3 separate regions of the Homo sapiens genome follow, and all the other regions are linked to region 2. Evidence: promoter capture Hi-C in human tissues and cell types (Jung and others, 2019). All regions are on one chromosome and are shown on one strand. The core of a region is centred on a gene start or on the middle of the fragment in contact, and the rest is flanking DNA. Distances in the headings are between cores, read along the strand shown.

Region 1 (4,335 bases), core at 1,437-3,936, 82 kb after region 2:
TCCTCGTGTGTGTGTGTGTGTGTGTGTGTCTGCATGTGCATGTGTGTGTGTGTGTGTCTGTGTCTGTGTGTGTGTGTCTGTGTGTGTGTGTATGTGTGTTTTAAAGTCACAATTCACATGCTCTGGGGAAGCCTCTCAGGCTCAGTCCTGACCACATCCCCTGTGGCAGCAAGAGAGCCCAATGCTTCCTATAGCGTCCAGCATCTGATAGCATGGCTGAGGCCCTAAAGTGCATGCCTAACTCTCCTCTGACATCGGCTGCAGCTTCCCTGCCAGGCAGCCGTGGGGGCTGAACAGAGTCCGGGCCAGCACCGGAGGCTAGACGGGTCTCTGCTTGAAGCAGAGAAGTTTTGTGTTTATCTTGTTTTAGCTAGGTGGGCTTCCAGGTAAATGGCATTTGAAGACAGTTCTTTTATTTAAAATAAAAGAATTTGAAAATCCATAATCTCTCAGGCTGGGCTTTTCCAGATTTGAAGAATTCTGCTAGTTAGAAAGTTCTTTGTTATTCTGATGCAGACGCTGCCCTGCTGCACTTGGCCTCAGCCCCTGCTGCCCACAGGCCACATTTCAGTTGCACGCTAGTCCTTCAGATCTTTAGAGGTGGCTGTGAGGTCCTTCCCAAGACCTTGCCCCACCCCATTTCATAGATACAGTATCTCGTGAGATGGTAGGTTGTTTGCGTTGTTCTAATCTATTGGAAAAAATATTTATCTGCTTGACAGATCCCATCGTGTTCCTGCTTCAGGGGACCTTAGGGATTGTCATCAACCAGGGACTTCGGGGGAAATCTGGAGCATTTTTTACAAGCCTTCCACTTCAATTTCCATCTTTAAGAAGAAACTCAAGGGTCAGAGTCAACAAGATGACCGCAATCCCCTTGTGAGTGACTAAAAACCCCACTGTGCCTAGGACTTGAGGTCCCTCTTTGAGCTCAAGGCTGCCGTGGTCAACCTCTCCTGTGGTTCTTCTCTGACAGACTCTTCCCCTCCTCTCCCTCTGCCTCGGCCTCTTCGGGGAAACCCTCCTCCTACAGACTAGGAAGAGGCACCCTGCTGCCAGGGCAGGCAGAGCCTGGATTCCTCCTGCTTCATCGATTGCACTTAGGAGAGAGACTCAAAGCCCTGGGGCCCGGCCCTCTCTGCATCTCTCTCTGATCTAGCTAGCAGTGGGGGTGTCAGGACAGTGAGGCTGAGATGACAGAGGTGGTCATGGCTGGCACAGGGCTCAGGTACATTCTAGATGGCTGTCAGGTGGTGGGTAGCTTTAGTTACATTGAATTTTTCTTGCTTCTCTATTTTTGTCCACACACAAATCAGTTTCTCCTGATCTTTATGTCTTGGAACAGGGCCAGACAGGGAGAACTCTCAGGTACTCTTGGGAGTTGGTCCCATACAAGTGCGGACTCCTGGACATTAGCGAGGTGTAAAGAGGGCAGTGTCTGTGCTGCCCCGGCAGCTTTGCTCTCCAGATGCTGGACTAGGGTGGGCCTCCTTCAGCCTGGGAGGGTCTGAGAATAAGATCTAGTGACCCCCATTTATATCAAACCTGATACCTTACACATGGGCTTCTTTCTAGATTCTTCTTTCCATAGCTCATGGAGCTGCAGGGAAAGCTTTAAGAGCTTTGGTCATATAAAACATCCATTCAGCTGGGCGCGATGGCTCATGCCTGTAATCCCAGCACTGTGGGAGGCTGAGGCGGGCAGATCACCTGAGGTCAGGAGTTCGAGACCAGCCTGGCCAACATGGTGAAACCCCGTCTCTACTAAAAATATAAAAATTAGTCAGGCGTGGTGGCAGGCGCCTGTAATCCCAGCTACTCAGAAGGCTGAGACAGAAGAACAGCTTGAACCCAGGAGGCTGAGATTGCAGTGAGCCGAGATCGCACCACTGCACTCCAGCCTGGGTGACAAGAGTGAGACTCTGTCTCAAAAAAACAAAACACAAATAAACAAAAAAAATCCATTCATTTACTCATGCAATAAATTCTCCTGCAAGCTTTTATGGGCACTCAGTAAGTACTCAGGATTGGCTTTATCAGCCTTGCCACTGAGCAGCTCATGGTCCTATGGAACCTGAGCCAGGCCTCAGTCTCTCCATGATTGGCTCAGCTAACTCTCAGTTCAGAGTGGAGAGTATCAATCTTGTGTTTTTGCCCTTAGGCAGCACTATATGAGACATGGGGCCTGTGGTCCTTCCTTCTGGTGTCCCCCGTGTTAAAAGATAAAAAACACCCCAAGGGCCGGGCGCGGTGGCTCATGCCTGTAATCCCAGCACTTTGGGAGGCTGAGGCGGGTGGATCACGAGGTCAGGTGATCGAAACCATCCTGGCTAAGATGGTGAAACCCCGTCTCTACTAAAAATACAAAAAATTAGCTGGGTGTGGTGGTGGGCGCCTGTAGTCCCAGCTGCTCGGGAGGCTGAGGCAGGAGAATGGCGTGAACCCGGGAGGCGGAGCTTGCAGTGAGCAGAGATCACGCCACTGCACTCCAGCCTGGGTGACAGTGCAAGACTCTGTCTCAAAAAAAAAAAAAACACTCCAAGGGCCATCCGTGCTCTCTGCCCCTCCTGTGGGGACCAAGTGGGGTTAGGAATGGCTCAGTGGGGAAGGAGAGCACTCTTGTCCCCAGTCCCTTGCCACCCTGTCCCTTAGATAGGGAGGTGGGCTGCAGAGATTGGTGCCAGAAGAGGGTGGGTTTGGGAATTGGAGCTCCTCCAAGGAGCTCCTCCTAAGATTGAGTGCTGCAGCTGTAGTGGCTGCTGGTTGGGAGAGTAAGTGCCATCACTAATTTAAAAGTCCTTGCCATCTGGAATCAGGCTTTGTCAACAGCAGCTGAGAAAAGCAGCCTGTGCCTCTGCTGGCCAGGCCTAGGCCCTCGTCAGAGCGTGCCTCTCCACAAGGCACTTGGGCCTGGGTGATTGTTGCGCCTCTGGCTTTGGCGTTTCCTCTTTGCAGCACTTTGCCTACCTCCCCCAAGCCCTGAGCCACTGCCTGCTGGGGCTCCTACTGAGGTTCTGGAAACACCTCTGCACCTGCCGCCCCTGGGAGGAAAGAGGGCCACACAGGAAGTGTCTGCAGGGAGAGGTGGCACTCGGCAGCCTGAGTTCAGGAGAGGTGCTTGGAGCTTCAGGCAGAGGGGCCTTCAGAGGAGGGAAACGGAGCAATGTGTCACAGGCAGGCAGGGGCAGGACTGCCACCCCAGGCCCCGTGGGAGGCCTGCTGAGGGCACAGAGCTGCTCGGTGCAGCCTTCATGCTTTGATCTGGAAAGAGCAGCTGTCCGCAGGCCTCTGTCTCCAAGAGGCCTGTCACACAGGAGGACCGCTGGAAACATACCAACACGTGCAGTCTCCCCTCCAAGCTATTCATGCTGTTTGTGGAATCTCTCTCAAACATAAGTGTCAGGTGTGTGTCGTCCCAACGGGTCCTGTGCTGTGAATAGATCCATGTGCAGCACAAAGGGAATGTGGCACGTGGCCCCAGGAAGAGTTCACCCGGCCAGGGGGCAGTTGTTCAGTTGCCTGGGGCTGACACTGACCACTGGCCTCTGGGGTGTCCTGCAGCCCAAATGCCCACCTTGCCCTCCTCACATCTCAGTCAGGGGAGGCCATGCCCAAGCCAATGTGCTGTCACAGCCTGCAGCGGGGGCAGCACTTCCTCGGAGGGCCTGGGAGGTGCTGGGGATGCCCCAGCGCTTCTCTTCCTGCCTCGCCCTGGCATGGCCCAGCGCCTCTAGGATCAACTTACGATCCGTGGAGCAGCCCCGGGAAACCCAAATCTGGCTCAGGACAGCGTACGGGCAGGAGGGCTGTAAATCATCCCAGGCTAAGCCTCCGTGGGCACTGGCTCCTGCCGCAGCCTGGCTATGGACTCAGTTAGAACCAGGTAGAAAGTCAGCGACACCCCACAGAAGGCCACTGCGGCTAGGTAAACACCTGAGAAAGAAACTGCTCCAGAAGAGATGACGTGGGCTTCCAGGAGCATGGAGGAGGTGGCACTTGAACTTTTAGGAAACTCCTTAGATGAGATAAAGTGGGGGTTGGAGGTGGCGAAAAGAGGGTAACCCTGGGAAAGTCAGTCAGAACCCATGGCAGAAGACTGCAGGAGAGGCAGGGGAGGGGCTTCGGGGACCACTGTGGACAGAGCTCTGAAAGCACCCTGGCCAAAGCCCCTCCTGAGGTGACAGAGCGTGGGAGGAGGCTGCACTGGGCCTGCGTGCCATCCTCACCCCTGTTCCCCGCTGGCGCCAGGCCCTGCCTTCTTGGTACCTGTGCCAACAGGAGAGCCCTCACCAGCCGATCTTGTCACTCTCCGTGGTGACAGTGTCTTGGCCAGCT
Region 2 (4,261 bases), core at 134-2,633:
TGCTGGCTGCTTGCTCTTGGAACTGATGAAGTTTCTTTTCCTGGCCTGCTGGGTGGCTTTCATCACTGAATCGTCCTTGTGCTTTAATCTCTTCGAGAGTTTTCCTTCTCCAAACTTGCATGGTGGTGGGCAGCACTTATTCTTCAGTTGCCGCCTGAGTACAAGCTTAACCAGGGAGAAGGAACTGGCAATTAATGGGTTCCTTACAACTTCCCAAGAGGAAGTGGTAGCTGGTGCTGGGGCATTAATGTTCTGCTTTGCACATGTTCTGGCCATCCAGATGTTGGTGAGAGCCGGTGAGTCCACATAGCAGTCCTGAAGCCTGGTATTTAATAAGATGGACTGTCGGAGTCCATAGATAGGGATGCTGGGGTCTCGTCTCACATTGATTGGGTGCTAGAATTATAAGGAGGGAGAAATGAATTTTAAAAGGACCGTTCTTCAGCAGAGAATAAAAGGTCTACTTTGAAGGCAAAATATTAACATCTTTTTATAGGCCATTCCTTCCACCCAGTTCTTAGAAATTTACTATATGTCCTCTCCTGTTCACCAAAGCCTTTTATACCAAGTAGGGAGGAGATAGTCACTCCACAAGGTTACAGTAATATTCAGGCTCTCAAAGAACATAGCATGCCAGGGCAGGAAGTCGGGGGTCAGGGAGGGTTCACAAGGAATTGAAGACAATTCCTGCCTGCTGGAAAGATACGGACGGCAGGGTCACTCAAGACTTCCATATGAGCTGTAGACACTCAACCATGCTGCAACACAGACATGACAGCCGGTAAGTTCTGCCAAGCCCTGAATACGCTTTACACTTTCTTTTTTTGTGTGTGGGGGGGACGGAGTTTAGCTCTTGTTGCCCAGGCTGGAGTGCAATGGCGTGATCTTGGCTCACTGCAACCTCCGCCTCCCGGGCTCAAGGGATTCTTCTGCCTCAGCCTCCGAAGTAGTTGAGATTACAGGCATGCACCACCGCACCCAGCTGATGTTGTATTTTTAGTAGAGACAGGGTTTCTCCATGTTGGTCAGGCTGGCCTCGAACTCCCCACCTCAGATGATCCGCCCGCCTCAGCCTCCCAAAGTGCTGGGATTACCAGCATGAGCCACCATGTTCGGCTGAATACACTTTCTAACCAACTGCCATGCACCAAGAAGAGCTCATTCACAGGGAAATCAATATACTCTGGGGACCATAAAAGCAACACGAAAACATTAATGCTGCCGGCCTCCATTTCCTGGGACCAACTAAGAGCAACAGAACAATTTGGATAGATTAGAATCACATATTTAAAGAGATCTGGCTTTCTAAGAAATGTCATCTATAGAAATAAAATCACCTTACCATATTTCAGTTGCCTTAAATTTTATTTTCGCTAGCTTAGTAAGGGGAAGAAATATGTATTTTCTCTTTCCTTTTTCTCTCTCTCTCTTTTTTTTTGTTTTTGTTTTAATATTTCTAGTCACCTGTCTTTCTCTGCCTTAGTCACATATGGGCAAATTGCTGTTTGTTTAGATGTGGGCTCAATGCAGGCAGCTTTGAGCCATTATCTCTAGTATTTGTGATGTCACTTTGGTTTGTGATGTGGGTGTGGGTGGGTGTTACATCATCAGATTTTATAGTTAAATTATGTGGGAAGAAGTTCTATACGGTTTTGCTTCTAGCCTCAGAAACTTCTGAAGTCCTCATTTCCCCCAAAATGGCTTGGATGAATTTTGAAGATCTTCATGTTCTTAAGAAGTATGTTTTGCAGGAAATGTAGTCAAATATGCAGACCAGATTTGGGGATATGGGTAGTGAGATGCATCCCTACATGTGCAAAAGTGCCCTCCTTCATGTACATAAAGGAGGCACTGTTAAGTTCTCAGAACAGCTGCCAAGGTTAGGGACCAGGAATGAAAGAACACGTTCCTGCAGACCTGGGCACCTTTCCCTGCATGTCTCTCCCGGGAAGACTACATGGTTTCTGGAATGTGGGTTTCTTTTACATCCCATGGCAAATGCAGTAATTAGAGCTGTTAGCAGTGTCAAGGGCTTGAAAGGAGAACAAAGCCGCCTCTTCCTGGGAACTCTTGGGCAATGCCTCACTGCTTATCAGGTGCTCGTCCTGTTGGTGGGTTTGATTCTTTTATTTGTAAAATGCCTCAGGAGCCTCCCTCCTGAGGGGGAGGCCAGTGAAATGATGGAAAAACAGAGTATGAATCTGGCAGGGGCTCCTGGAATCGCATGTGTTGCCTGCTTGCGTTTTTAAGTGTTGTCCCTGGAGTGAATCAGAGCCTGCAGGCGGACCGCACCACAGGCTGTGGTGGAACCACCTCCAGGCCTATGGCAGCTGGACCCACAGACAGTTGAGAGGACAATTGCTCCCTTTCAGTGGCGAGCCCTGGCCTCACCTCCTAAGAGCTGGGTCGATTTTAGAGCAGGGCTTTGGAAAGGGTTTGTCTTTGGGAAGAGTTTGCGAATGTCTGGAGACTGGGCAGGCAAGAGTCTTTTCAAAGCTGGTCAGTCTTGGAAAAATGGCACCGGGCTCCTGGGCTACCTGGAAATTACCATCTGTCTTTACTCTGCAAAGCAGGGACAGGAGGGAAATGTCAAGCAAAAAAAGGCATAATAGGAGTAGGTCATCTGTTTCTCTTTTCTCCTTCTCCATCTTGAGTTTGGCTTTCCTGCACCTCATCTTTCCACACACTCATCCGTTAGATTTACTCTGCTAGGTCTTTTACTCAATGACTCTGCTTGGTCTTTTACTCACTCTGTCCCCCAGGCTGGAGTGCAGTGGTGCGATCTCGGCTCACTGCAACCTCCGCTTCCTGGGGTTCAAGCAATTCTCGTGCATCAGCCACCCAAGACGCTGGGATTACAGGCGCGGACCACCAAGCCCAGCTAATTTTTGTATTTTTAGTAGAGATGAGTTTTCACCATGTTGGCCCAGCTGGTCTCAAACTCCTGGCCTCAAGTGATCCACCCACCTTGGCCTCCCAAAGTGCTGGGATTACAGGCGTGAGCCTGTGCTCAGCCTCAATCTCCTTCTTCCAGCAGAGAGCTGTTCACATGGGCAGCACTTGATACATACTCTTCAAGTTCTATCAAATTCTGCCTTCTCTGCCTTCATTGTAACTCACTTCAATTGACTATGCCACAACAGGTAACCCTCAGCCTTCCTTAGAACTAACCCAGGGTACTTTGTTCTAAGCTATTTCTCCTATGTCAATAAAACTAATATTTATTGAATGCTTCCTGAAGGCCAGGCACTGTTCTAGCCACTTTATTAGCATCATGTCATGAAATGCTACCAACCATCCTATGAGTTTGAGCACTGTTCCCTGTTTTACAGATAAAGAAACTGAGGCACAAGTTGCTCAAGTATCATGCCTCAAGTAACCAACAAAGGCTGAACCCAACCAAAGTCTATACTGCCCTTGTTTTTGTTTTTGTTTTTGAGACGGAGTTTCACTCTTGTCACCCAGGCTGGAGTGCAGTGGCACGATCTTGGCTCACTGCAACCCCCACCTCCCAGGTTCAAGGGATTCTCCTGCCTCAGCCTCCCAAGTAGCTGGGATTATAGGCACGCACTATCATGCCGGGCTAATTTTTGTATTTTTAGTAGAGATGGGGTTTCACCATGTTGGCCAGGCTAGTCTCAAACTCTTGACCTCAGGTGATCCACCTGCCTTGGCCTCCCAAAGTGCTAGGAATACAGGTGTGAATCACCACACCCAGCCCTACTGCCCCTGTTCTTAAACACTCACAGTTATCACCGTGATGCCTGGCCTCTCTGTTGGTCAGCCCATCCATCTACCATACCCGGGCCCAGTTCTAGTCCTGTCCTTGTCATGAGACTTTCTCTAGGCCCAGGAGGGAATCTGCCTGTGATGGCATCCCAGATCCATCTTTCATTAGGCAAGTGAATTCATACCCCTGAACCTTAATTTCCTCAGCTGTGAAATGGGCCTAGTCATACTGCCTACCTAAGGGTTATTGTGAGTTTGAAGTGGGACAATGCATCTGAAATACTTGGCATGGCTCCTGGTGTATATAGTAAGCACTCAATGAATATTTGCTTTTTTGTGTTTTTGTTTTTGTTTCAAGACAGGGTCTCAGTCTGTCACCCAGGCTGGAGTGCAGTGGTGTGATCACGGCTCATGAGAGCCTCGACCTCCTGGGCTCAAGCAATCCTCCCACTTTGGCCTCCCAAGTAGCTGGGATCACAGGCTTGTTTTTGCCCAGTGATTTTTTTTTTTTTTTTTTTTTTTTTTTTTTTTT
Region 3 (4,015 bases), core at 177-2,676, 100 kb after region 2:
CTGTAATCCCAGCTACTCGGGAGGCTGAGGCAGGAGAATCACTTGAACCTGGGAGATGGAGGTTGCAGTGAGCCGAGATCATGCCACTGCACTCCAGCCTGGGTGACAGACCGAGACTCCGTCTCAAAAAAAAAAAAAAAAAAAAAAAATTAAGAAGATCTCTCAAAACCATACAATTACATGAAAATTAAATGACTTGCTCCTGAATGATTTTGGGGGTAAACAACAAAATAAAGGCACAAAATCAAAAAAATTCTTTGAAAGAAATGAAAACAGAGATACAAAATACCAAAATCTCTGGGATGCAGCAAAAGCAGTGTTAAGAGGAAAGCTGATGGTGCTCAATGCCTACCTCAAGAAGTTAGACCTCAGATTAACCATCTAATATCGCACATAGAGGAACTAGAAAAACAAGAACAAGCTAACCCAGAAGATAGCAGAAGAAAAGAAATAACTAAAATCAGAGTAGAACTTAATGAAATTGAGACACAAAAATTCATACAAAGAATCAGCAAAACCAAAAGTTGATTATTTGAAAGGATAAACAGGATCAGTAAACCGCTAGCTAGATTAACAAAGAAAGAGAGATCAAATAAGCAAAATCAGAAATAACAAATGTGTCACTTGTAATAAGGGACCCCACAATACAAAAGATCCTCAGAGACTATTATGAACACCTCTGCACACATAAACTAGAAAATCTAGAGGCAATAGATAAATTCCTGGAAACACACCATCTCCCAAGAGTGAATCAGGAAGAAACTGAAAGACTGAACAAATCAATATCATGTTCAGAAATTGAATCAGCACTGGCCAGGCGTGGTGGCTCATGCCTGTGATCCCAGCACTTTGGGGGGCCAAGGTGGGCAGATCATGAGGTCAGGAGATCGAGACCATCCTGGCTAACATGATGAAACCCCGTCTGTACTAAAAATACAAAAAATTAGCCAGGCGTGGTGGCAGGCGCCTGTAGTCCCAACTACTTGGGAGGCTGAGGCAGGAGAATGGCGTGAACCCGGGAGGCAGAGCTTGCAGTGAGCTGAGATTGCGCCACTGCACTCCAGCCTGGGTGACAGAGTGAGACTCCATCTCAAAAAAAAAAAAAAAAAAAAAAAAAGATATTGAATTGGTACTAAAAAACTTACCAGCCAAAAAATGCTTTGGACCAGTTATATTTACAGCCACATTCCACCAGATGTACAAGGAAGAGCTGCTACCAATTCTACTGAAACTATTCCAAAAAATCAGGTAGGAGGAACTCTTCTCTAACTCATTCTATGAAGCCAGCATCACCCTGACCTCAAAACCTGGCAAAGACACAGTGAAAAAAGAAAGCTTCAGGCCAATATCCCTGATGAACATAGACACAACAATCCTCAACAAAATACTAGCAAACTGAATTCAACAGCACATCAAAAAGTTGGCCGGGTGGTGGCTCATGCTGTAATCCCAGCACTTTGGGAGGCTGAGGTGGATAGATCACTAGAGGCCATAAGTTCGAGACCAGCCTGACCAACATGGCGAAACCCCATCTCTACTAAAAATACAAAAAAATTAGCCAGGTATGGTGGTGCATGTCTATAATCCCAGCTCCTCGGGAGGCTGAGGCAGGAGAATCACTTGAACCTGGAGGTGGAGGTTGCAGTGAGCCGAGATTGTGTCACTGCACTCTAGCCTGAATAACAGAGCGAGACTCTACCTCAAAAAAAAAAAAAAGATTAATTCACTATGATCAAGTAGGTTTCATTCCTGTGATGCAAGATTGGTTCAACATGCATGAATCAATAAATGTGATTCACCACATAAACAGAATTACAAACAAAAACCATCATCCCAATAGATGCAGAAAATGCTTTCAATAAACTCCAACATCCTTTCGTGATAAAAACCCTCAAGAAACTAGGCATCGAAGGAATGTACCTCAAAATAATAAGAGCCATCTATGACAAACCCACAGCCAACATCATACTGAATAGGCAAACACTGAAGCATTCCCCCTTGGAACAAGAAAAGCAATGCCGGCCGGGCACAGTGGCTCACACCTATAATCCCAGCACTCTGGGAGGCTGAGGCAAGTGGATGAACTGAGGTCAGGAGTTCAAGACCAGCCTGGCCAACATGGTGAAACCCCGTTTCCACTAAAAATACAGAAAATTAGCTGGGCGTGGTGGCAGATGCCTGTAATCTCAGCTACTCGGGAGGCAGGAGAATTGCTTGAACCCTGGAGGTGGAGGCTGCAGTGAACCGAGATTGTGCCACTGCATTCCAGCCTGGGCAACAAGAGCAAAACTCCGTCACACAAAAAAAAAGAAAAAAAGAAAAAAAAGCAATTCCATTATTGGGTATATATCCAAAAGGAAACAAAGTATTATACCAAAATGACATAGGCACTTGTGTGTGCATTGCGGCACTATTCACAATAGCAAAGACAAGGAATCAACGTAGGTGCCCATCAATGGTGGATTAGATAAAGAAATCATAGTACATATACATTGTGGAATACTACATAATCATAAAAAAGAATTAAATCATGTACTTTGCAGCAATACAGATCCAGCTGGAGGCCATTCACAAGTACATAAAACCATAAACATTGGGTACTGATATGGTTTGGCTCTGTGTCCTCACACAAATCTCATCTCGAATCGTAATCCCTGCTTGCCAAGGAGGGACCTGTAATCCCCACGTGTTGAGGGAGGGAAGGATTACCGGGGCAATTCCCCACCGCCCCGCCGTTCTCGTGATAGTGAGTGAATGTCGCGAGATTTGATGGTTTTAAAAGTGGAATTTTTTCCTGCTCTAGCTCTCACGCTCTCCTGCCATCTCTTGAAGGAGGTGTCTGCTTCTCCTTTTGCCTTCCGCCATGCTTGTAAGTTTCCTGAGGCCTCCCCAGCAAATAATGCGAAACTGTGAGTCAATTAAGCCTCTTTCCTTTATAAATTACCCAGTTTCAGGTATTTCTTTCTTGTTTTGTTTTTTTGAGATGGAGTTTCACTCTCATCGCCCAGGCTGGAGTGCAGTGGCGCGAACTCGGCTCACTGCAATATCCGCCTCCCGGGTTCAAACGATTCTCTTACCTCAGTCTCCCGAATAGCTGGGATTACAGGGGCCACCACCACGCCCAGCTAATTTTTGTATTTTTAGTAGAGACAGGGTTTCATCATGTTGGCCAGGTTGGTCTGGAACTCCTGACCTCAAGTGATCCACCCACCTCAGCCTCCCGAAGTGCTGGGATTACAGGCATGAGCCACCACGCCCGGCCTCAGGCATTTCTTTATAACAGTGTGAGAACAGACTAATACAGGTACTCAGGGACATAAAGATGGCAACAGTAGACACTGGGGACTACTAAGGGGGGAAGGGAGAGAAGGGGTCAAGGGTTGAAAAAACTAACTCTTGGGAACTATGCTCACCACCTGGCTGATGGGATCATTCATATCCCAAACCTCAGCATCACGCAATACACCCACGTAACAAACCTGCGTATGTACGCCCTACATCTAAAATAAAAGTTGAAAAAAAAAACGAGGTCTTGCTATGTTGCCCAGGCTGGAGTGCAGGGCCCATTCACAGATTGAATCATAGCGCACTGCAGCCTCAAACCGCTGGGCTCAAGGGACAAACCGCTGGGCTCAAGGGATCTTCCCACCTCAGCCTCCCGAGTAGCTGGGATTACAGGCGCGCATTGCTGCGCCCAGCTGAGGACCTTACATTTTAAAAAGAACAGTCCAGATGTAAGAGATTTACAAAAGCAGGATATCAATTAACTAGTCCAAAATGGAAACGGCTGTTGACTATGGTGTGGGGGGCCTTCTTGAAGTCAAAGAGGAATCTGGACACACCTGGCAAACTGATGGGACCAGTCCTTTGTTGTATTGGCTGGAACGGTTGAAGGAGAGAAGGAGCCTGGCACAATGATCTCAATCTGGTTACAAAGCATGATTCCAGAGAAGAAGGTTGATTAGTAACAGCGCCTTGCTATCATTTATTGATCTCTTACTGTGCTCCAGGCATT

Evidence for each region. Contacts are between HindIII fragments. The study calls those that stand out against the background at their distance.
Region 1: a contact is called between a fragment that was not itself captured here and the fragment with the promoter of C22orf31 in region 2, in 2 of the 25 tissues and cell types used here (liver and mesenchymal stem cells).
Region 3: a fragment that was not itself captured here is called in contact with the fragment with the promoter of C22orf31 in region 2 in 3 of the 25 tissues and cell types used here (IMR-90 fibroblasts, aorta and mesenchymal stem cells).

Annotation. Positions count from the first base shown.
Region 1 is chr22:29,141,222-29,145,556 of GRCh38, forward strand. KREMEN1 (kringle containing transmembrane protein 1) reads left to right here. Exons shown (of 9, transcript NM_001039570.3): 9 at 723-4,335. The coding sequence ends at 891. Among named protein-coding and RNA genes, the nearest start is that of EMID1, 63 kb to the right of the region's middle. RefSeq lists enhancers at 1-277, 278-777. The HindIII fragment of the contact is 4,164 bases long and covers 605-4,335 here.
Region 2 is chr22:29,060,448-29,064,708 of GRCh38, forward strand. It overlaps C22orf31 (chromosome 22 open reading frame 31), which reads right to left and starts at 1,384. Exons shown (of 3, transcript NM_015370.2): 1 at 1,343-1,384; 2 at 1-396. The coding sequence starts at 1,345. RefSeq lists an enhancer at 1,754-2,521. The HindIII fragment of the contact is 14,185 bases long and covers 1-2,798 here.
Region 3 is chr22:29,160,415-29,164,429 of GRCh38, forward strand. It overlaps a transcript of KREMEN1 not described here. Among named protein-coding and RNA genes, the nearest start is that of EMID1, 43 kb to the right of the region's middle. The HindIII fragment of the contact is 5,684 bases long and covers 1-4,015 here.